Linked DNA regions of Homo sapiens: region 1 is linked to region 2. Evidence: promoter capture Hi-C in human tissues and cell types (Jung and others, 2019). All regions are on one chromosome and are shown on one strand. The core of a region is centred on a gene start or on the middle of the fragment in contact, and the rest is flanking DNA. Distances in the headings are between cores, read along the strand shown.

Region 1 (3,364 bases), core at 688-3,187, 63 kb after region 2:
AAGGAAAACACAACTTTGATAAAGGTAATTTTGGTAGACATTCTCTAACATGTAAACTGCTTGTGTAAACTGGGAAATACCAGATTGCTCTAAATTAATTAGTTCTATATTTGTTCAATTACACTGGATTGTGTTCTGTGTTTTTATTTTGTTTTGTTTCTTGTTTTCTACTCACATGGTGAGACTTGGCTTGGGTGAGTCATTTCTTTGAAGACCCTCAGTTCATACTAAGGGGCAAAAGCAGATGAGGGTCCAGGGCAAGGCATGGAAGCCAACTGCTCAGTGGTTTCAACCCGGGCTTCATGGGAAAAGGATGGGAGGGTGGGGTTGGGTGTCCTTGAGATTGAGGTGAGAACAGTTGCCTGAGAACAGGAACCAGAAAGTCCTAACAGCGGTCGATCACTGATAACATTTGTGCTGAAAACATTTCAGGCCCAAACTGTCTCAGCCATGCTGAGCAAGGCAGGAACTTGGGATGTGAACCACTCTCTTAATCGGGTCCACTGTGTATCCAAAGTTGACCCTTGAGGGCCAGGCACGGTGGCTCACTCCTGTAATCCCAGCACTCTGGGAGGCCAAGGCAGGTGGATCATCTGACGTCAGGAGTTTGAGTCCATCCTGGCCAACATGGTGAAACCCTGATAATACAAAAATTAGCCAGGTGTTTGTGGCGGGTACCTGTAATCCCAGCTACTCGGGAGGCTGAGGCAGGAGAATCGCTTGAACCCGGGAGGCGGAGGTTGCATTGAGCCGAGATCGCGCGATTGCACTCCAGCTTGGGCAACAAGAGCGAAACTTCATCTCAAACAAACAAACAAACAAACCCAAAATTGACCATTGAGAAAAACCCTTGCTTTGTGCCCATCTGTTGTGAGGAGATGGGACAGCCTTGCCCCTGCATGGAATCTGCTCAGGAGCTTTAGTTTCTGTAGTAGAAGGTGGGCTCTGTGATTAACTCTGTGGAGTTTAAGGATCTGGGTTCAGTGAGCACTCAGGCTCTGATGGGGAATTGTACCTGGAACGGTTAATTATCTCGTAAAAAGATCAATGGAAAAATTATTTTCAAGAAAAATAATAGATAAAATTTACCTACTCTGATACTTAGCACAATAAATATTTATTGAACTGTTGAATCTTTTCTAGGTATTTGAAGTTTTATTTTCAGGCTAGTGGCTTTTGAATTCTGCCACAGGAGAATTCAGTTCTCCTTCTGAGGCCTTCTGAGGAGGGGAGAGAGTGAAAGGAAGGGAAGAAGCAGCTTGGCCTGGACCCATTTTTTCCATTAATTTTTTTTTTCTTAGTAGAGACGAGCTCTCTGCTATGTTGCCCAGGCTGGTCTCAGACTCCTGGGCTCAAGCGATCCTCCCGCCTCGGCCTCTCAAAGTGTTGGGATTACAGGCGTGAGCCACTGTGCCCAGCCTGGACCCATTTTATATACTAGACTTTTCTAGAAGGTTCTCTTTGAAGAAAAGTTTTCTCTGCTAACCACACTTTGAAAAATTATTTCTGTAGGAAAATGATATATTATCCTTTGATAACCTAGGTCGCTGGACAGCTTTTGTTAAAAAGTTCTACCCATGTGGCTTTAGCTTCCAAAGATACACTTCCTTTTTTTGAGACAGAGTCTCACTGTGTTGCCCAGGCTGGTCTTGAACTCCTGGGCTCAAGTGATCCTCCTGACTTGGCCTCAGCCTCCCAAAGTGCTGGGATTACAGGCATGAGCCACTGCGCCTGGCCCCCAAGATACACTTTCACCAAACTGTGTTTCAAAGTTATGCTTTTAAATTGTATTTAAAGTTCATATAAGAACAGGCTTAGCTGTGACACTGTAGAGGCGAGAATGTGGAGTTGACACGGGTCCTTTTCACACTTGTTCCCCACACAGGGCCCACATGAAACCTGTCCCTGAGTTTAATCCTAAGAAAAACCTTGTTTCACTAGCAAATAATTCCCTTCTCTGAGAAGGCAAATTAATTATTTTATTTCCAACTTTCTCTTAGGCATCCTGAAATTCTGAGCTCAGTTTCATGCTCTGAAAAAGAAAAAATAACTGCTAGAGTCACAGAAATGGTATTGACTTTTTGGATTGGAATATTTGTTTTCTCTGTTCCTTACCTGTTTCCCCCTATTTTTCTTACTTCCTTTCCATTTTATTTTGTATGCCTCTTTGTAAGCTGCCTTAAATGCTTTTTGGAATGAGGCAGGATATACATTCAATAAATAAAATATGTCTGAGCCACTTATGAACAAAACCTTCTTGGGCCAGAGCCTAAACATTACTTATATAAAAAGACCTGATTCCTCACCTTCTACAACAATATTATTTAGTCATTTCTCTGCATTGTACTCAACTCTTTAAAGGTTATAGAATTGTAGTTAGCGTATTAGAAGGCTCATGGATCTAGATTCTATGTCCTCAGCAGGTGAAGTCTTTTTTACACAATGCCACTGTACGGATTGTAGAGTTCTTGGGCTGGCATAATTTTATGTGACCAAAATTTGGCAAAGGGTCTTATCAGTTTGAGGAGAGATTAGTGGAGCATTGAATTTCAGAGTTTGAAATGACATTAGAGATTATCTGGTCCAGTGATTCTCAACCAGGGAGACATTTGGTTATTTCCGGAGATATTTTTGGTCACAACTGAGGTGGGTGCTACTGGCTTCTAGGGATGGAGGTCAGGAAAGCTGCCAAGAACCCGACAGTGTACAGGACAGCCCCCACACCAGCATGTCACTACTGCCGAGGACGAGAAGCCCTGATCTAGCCAATCCTGTCATTTTTCAGACTCCAGGGAGTTTGTGACCTGACCTTCAAATATAAGATTTAATATTTAATTGCCCAAATTCATTCTTAAAATATAGCAAAATGATGAGAAATTTCCCTTCAAAACTGAGAACAAGACAAAGATGTCTATTATGATAGACCGTTCTTAGAAGTTTACTGCTCCTCCTGGGGATGCCTCTCAATAGAGAAATTCTACATTCCCGCCTGTTGAAAGCAGACATGGTTACTTGACTTGTTTGGGCCTATGAAATGTGAACAGAGGCGACACACGTCACGATCAGGTGGGAGACTTAGTAACACATGCCTGGTGTCCCATGCCCTTTTCCCTCTGCCAGTGTTCCAGGGCGTGGCAGGACTGCCAGCCTGGTCTTGGAGTCACAGCTGGGCCCCGAAGGCGATGCTGTGGGACCTGGAAATAAAGCTTTGCTGTTGTTTTAAAAATGGAATCACATTGTAAATTAGGATCCTGGGGAGCGTGGCACTAGGTATTCTTATGCAGAGCTAGATGGTGATGCTTTCCTTTCCTTATCACTTCAAGTCTGCAGACACAGCCTTCAGGGCGTTCTTCTTCTGTGGTTC
Region 2 (3,289 bases), core at 570-3,069:
TCCAGACAGCCTGCTAGTGGAAACTTTGGAAGGGCACTGTCATATGCTTTTTCTCCCACGCCATCAACAAGTGTCCTTTTTTTTTTTTTTTTTTGAGATGGAGTCTCTGTTGCCTAGGCTGGAGTATAGTGGTGCCATCTGTACCCTCCACCTCCTGGATTCAAGCAATTCTCCTGCCTCAGCCTCCCAAGTAGCTGGGATCACAGGCGTGCACCACCATACCTGGCTAATTTTTGTATTTTTAGTAGAGATGGGATTTCACCATGTGGGCCAGGCTAGTCTTGAACTCCGGACCTCAAATGATCCATCCACTTCTGCCTCCCAAAGTGCTGGGATTATAGGCGTGAGCCACTGTGCCCGGTCAACAATCATCTTTTTTTTTTTTTTTTTTTTTTTTACCAGGTACACAATGATGGGAGAGTTGAGTCCTGCTTTCTAACTTAGAAAACGCATGTGTGTTCATCACCTGGTCACTGAGAAACAGCTCTGGAATAGGTGCCATGCAGAAGAAGAGAGGGAACTGGAAAGACCCACTGATCTGTGGGTCTCACAGCCTCCCGTTACACAGAAATTGCTTCTTTTCTCTCATGTTGCGTTCTTCCTCTTGATTCTCGACCCTTCTCCACTCTTTCATTTACTCCACTCTTACTTTGCTTTCACCTCCTTTTGTAACCGTTCATCATCACTCTTCATATGGATTAATGTGATTATCTTAAAAGCATGTAATATGTAGTTGCTGGGTTTGTATGAGTAATGAGTGAACCTGAAGCCAACATAATGATCCCGTTTAGTGCTCCCGAGTTAAGATTCCAGAGTTGCCTGACTTTGGACAAATCACATCTCCCTTTGCCTTTCACCCCCTGTAAACTGAGGATAATGGCTCTTACCTCAAAGCATTGTTAGGATTGGAGAGAACGCATGTTACATACTTAGAAGAATGCTTGGTATGGGTCTCAAGAACTCTTAGCTCTTATTGTTTAAAAAATGCTTATTACAGGGCATCGTTGGTATCTTATATAGGGAATTTCAAGCAGTTTTCCTTTATTGAAGACACAGAGTAAGGTGCTTTGATGGAAACTATTGGGGCAAGATATACAGTACCTAGCTAGAGGTTTCCTGGGTGCATGTATTGTGGAGATATTTTTTTTCTGAGTGGATAGCGCTCTTGTGATACGCTGGGTGAGGGCGAGCAATATTTAGCGGACTGTCCTGTGAGGATAGTAAGGTTATCTGGTGAGAGTGTTAGGTGGCCCAGGCCAGACTTGGGAGAGGCAGGGAGAGAGGGGGACGACGGAGGAGGGCGCCTTGGGGTGCGTCTTGAAAGCTTTGGGAAACCCAGCGGTCTTTTGGGGGCAGGTGGCCCAAAAAGCCTTCTGCGCGCCCAGGGGACGAGGAGGATGCGCGGACCGCGACCGCGATAGTTTTGTTTGCTTTTCTCGGGAGAAAGCGTTCCAGGCAGTTTCCTGAGCTTCGGCCCTCGACGTAGCAAAAGAGCCCGGGCGCCCACGCCGCTCTCGGGGTCTTCTACTGCCACCGGGACAAAGCCCTGGGAGGAGCTCCCGCCCCCGCGAGCCGGACAGGGCGGAGGCTCCCCCGCCGCGCGCGCCCCACCGCTTCCCAGTCCCAGACCCGTCGCCTGCGCCTCCTCCTGGCGCGCCTCACGGTGCAGCGGGCGGCGGCCCGCGCGCCCGGCGGGAGGCGCCTCGGGATGTTTCCGTCTGGTCCTTCCCTCCGCCCCCCGCGCTGACTCCATCCGCTCCCCGCCCCCTGCTCGGAGCCGCCGCCACGCGGGAAGGGAGGGAGCCGGCCCCGAGACTGCATCATTCCGCACCGGCTGCTGCAGGGCCAGAGGGAGCAGGTGGAGCGAGAGAGCGAGCCGCGAGCCGGAGCGCGCCAGACCCAGGGCGAGACTGCAGTGACGCGGCCCGGGAGACATGGCGGACGGGCGTCTCTGAATAAGCAGAATCCGGAGCCCCTCGCTACCCGCGGCCGCCGCAGCCCGGGCCATGCCGCACGGCTGCTGACCGCACGCAGGGGCCGGCCCCGAGGACACATGCGGCGGCCTTTGCCGCCTCGCCCCTGACCCTCTGCCCTGTTCTCCATGTTGCATTTCTCGTCAGTTTCTCGGGCGGTGTAGCTGCCGCTGCCACCAGAGCCGGCGGGGCATCGCGCTGCTCATTCATCCGGCCGCACTTTCTTTTCCGTTTCCACCCATCCCTTCCCATTTCCTTCTCCCTTTCCCCGCCAGCTTCGCATCCATCTCCCCCACCCCGTAACCCCCTCCTGCCTCCATCCACCGGGGCTATGGCCGCAGAAGAGGTATTGCAGACGGTGGACCATTATAAGACTGAGATAGAGAGGCTAACCAAGGAGCTCACGGAGACCACCCACGAGAAGATCCAGGCTGCCGAGTACGGGCTGGTGGTGCTGGAGGAGAAGCTGACCCTCAAACAGCAGTATGATGAACTGGAGGCTGAGTACGACAGCCTCAAACAGGAGCTGGAGCAGCTCAAAGAGGTGAGTTGCCTGTCACCTCTCCCTTTCCTGGCCCTCACTCCCCCCACCCGCAAGGCCCACTCATCATGATCAAGAAGTCATAAAGGAGGTGATTGAAAGGACTGTTTTTTCTTCTAGGGCCCTTTGTTGGTAAGAGAAGATTGAAAGAGTCCATTGTTTCCTCCCCCAAGAGAAAAATTGCCTAAGAAATGAATATATAAGCTGGAATTTGGGAGGCAATGGCTGTTTGGCCTGCGGGGGAGGGAGATTAGTAAGAGTCATCAAGTCTCAGCACTCTAAGACGACATTCAAGTGGGTTGGAATGTATAAATCAAACTTCTCAAAACCGCTGTTATCTCAAACCCAGGTTTCAGCGACAATTTCGTAGTCCACAAAAGTGATGAGGTTTGTGCCTGAGGACCCACAATTTCAGGATTTAGACTGTGTGGCACCTCAGCTTTCCTCTGGATGTAACCACTCCTTGGTGAGAGAGGGAACTCCTCACCAATCCCATTTGACAAAGGCTAGGCAATCTTCATTCTGCTTGGCTTTAGTCATTCTTGTCATTGGGCTGCAGAAGAAAAACAACTTTGCTGGGTGATCCCACTGCCTTGATTTCACCTCGGAGCGAGGCTGGGCCATGTCCAAGTCTTATGAGGTCACCCTGACTAGAAAAAATTGAACTCACCTACAAATAGTCTGAAAGAGTGGTGTATATCAAATACGTGGGTAGTGTTGCATTTCAAATGAGGCTCTTCTGGTTGAAATGATATATTTATAAAACCAGAATATC

Evidence for each region. Contacts are between HindIII fragments. The study calls those that stand out against the background at their distance.
Region 1: a fragment that was not itself captured here is called in contact with the fragment with the promoter of BICD1 in region 2 in 1 of the 25 tissues and cell types used here (pancreas).

Annotation. Positions count from the first base shown.
Region 1 is chr12:32,168,159-32,171,522 of GRCh38, forward strand. The region is part of intron 1 of BICD1 (BICD cargo adaptor 1); the gene reads left to right. Among named protein-coding and RNA genes, the nearest start is that of BICD1-AS1, 62 kb to the left of the region's middle. The HindIII fragment of the contact is 6,487 bases long and covers 1-3,364 here.
Region 2 is chr12:32,105,028-32,108,316 of GRCh38, forward strand. BICD1 (BICD cargo adaptor 1) reads left to right here and starts at 1,820. Exons shown (of 10, transcript NM_001714.4): 1 at 1,820-2,517. The coding sequence starts at 2,305. It overlaps BICD1-AS1 (BICD1 antisense RNA 1), which reads right to left and starts at 2,435. Exons shown (of 3, transcript NR_185992.1): 1 at 2,367-2,435. RefSeq lists a silencer at 1,343-1,822 and enhancers at 2,183-2,262, 2,790-3,289. The HindIII fragment of the contact is 20,031 bases long and covers 1-3,289 here.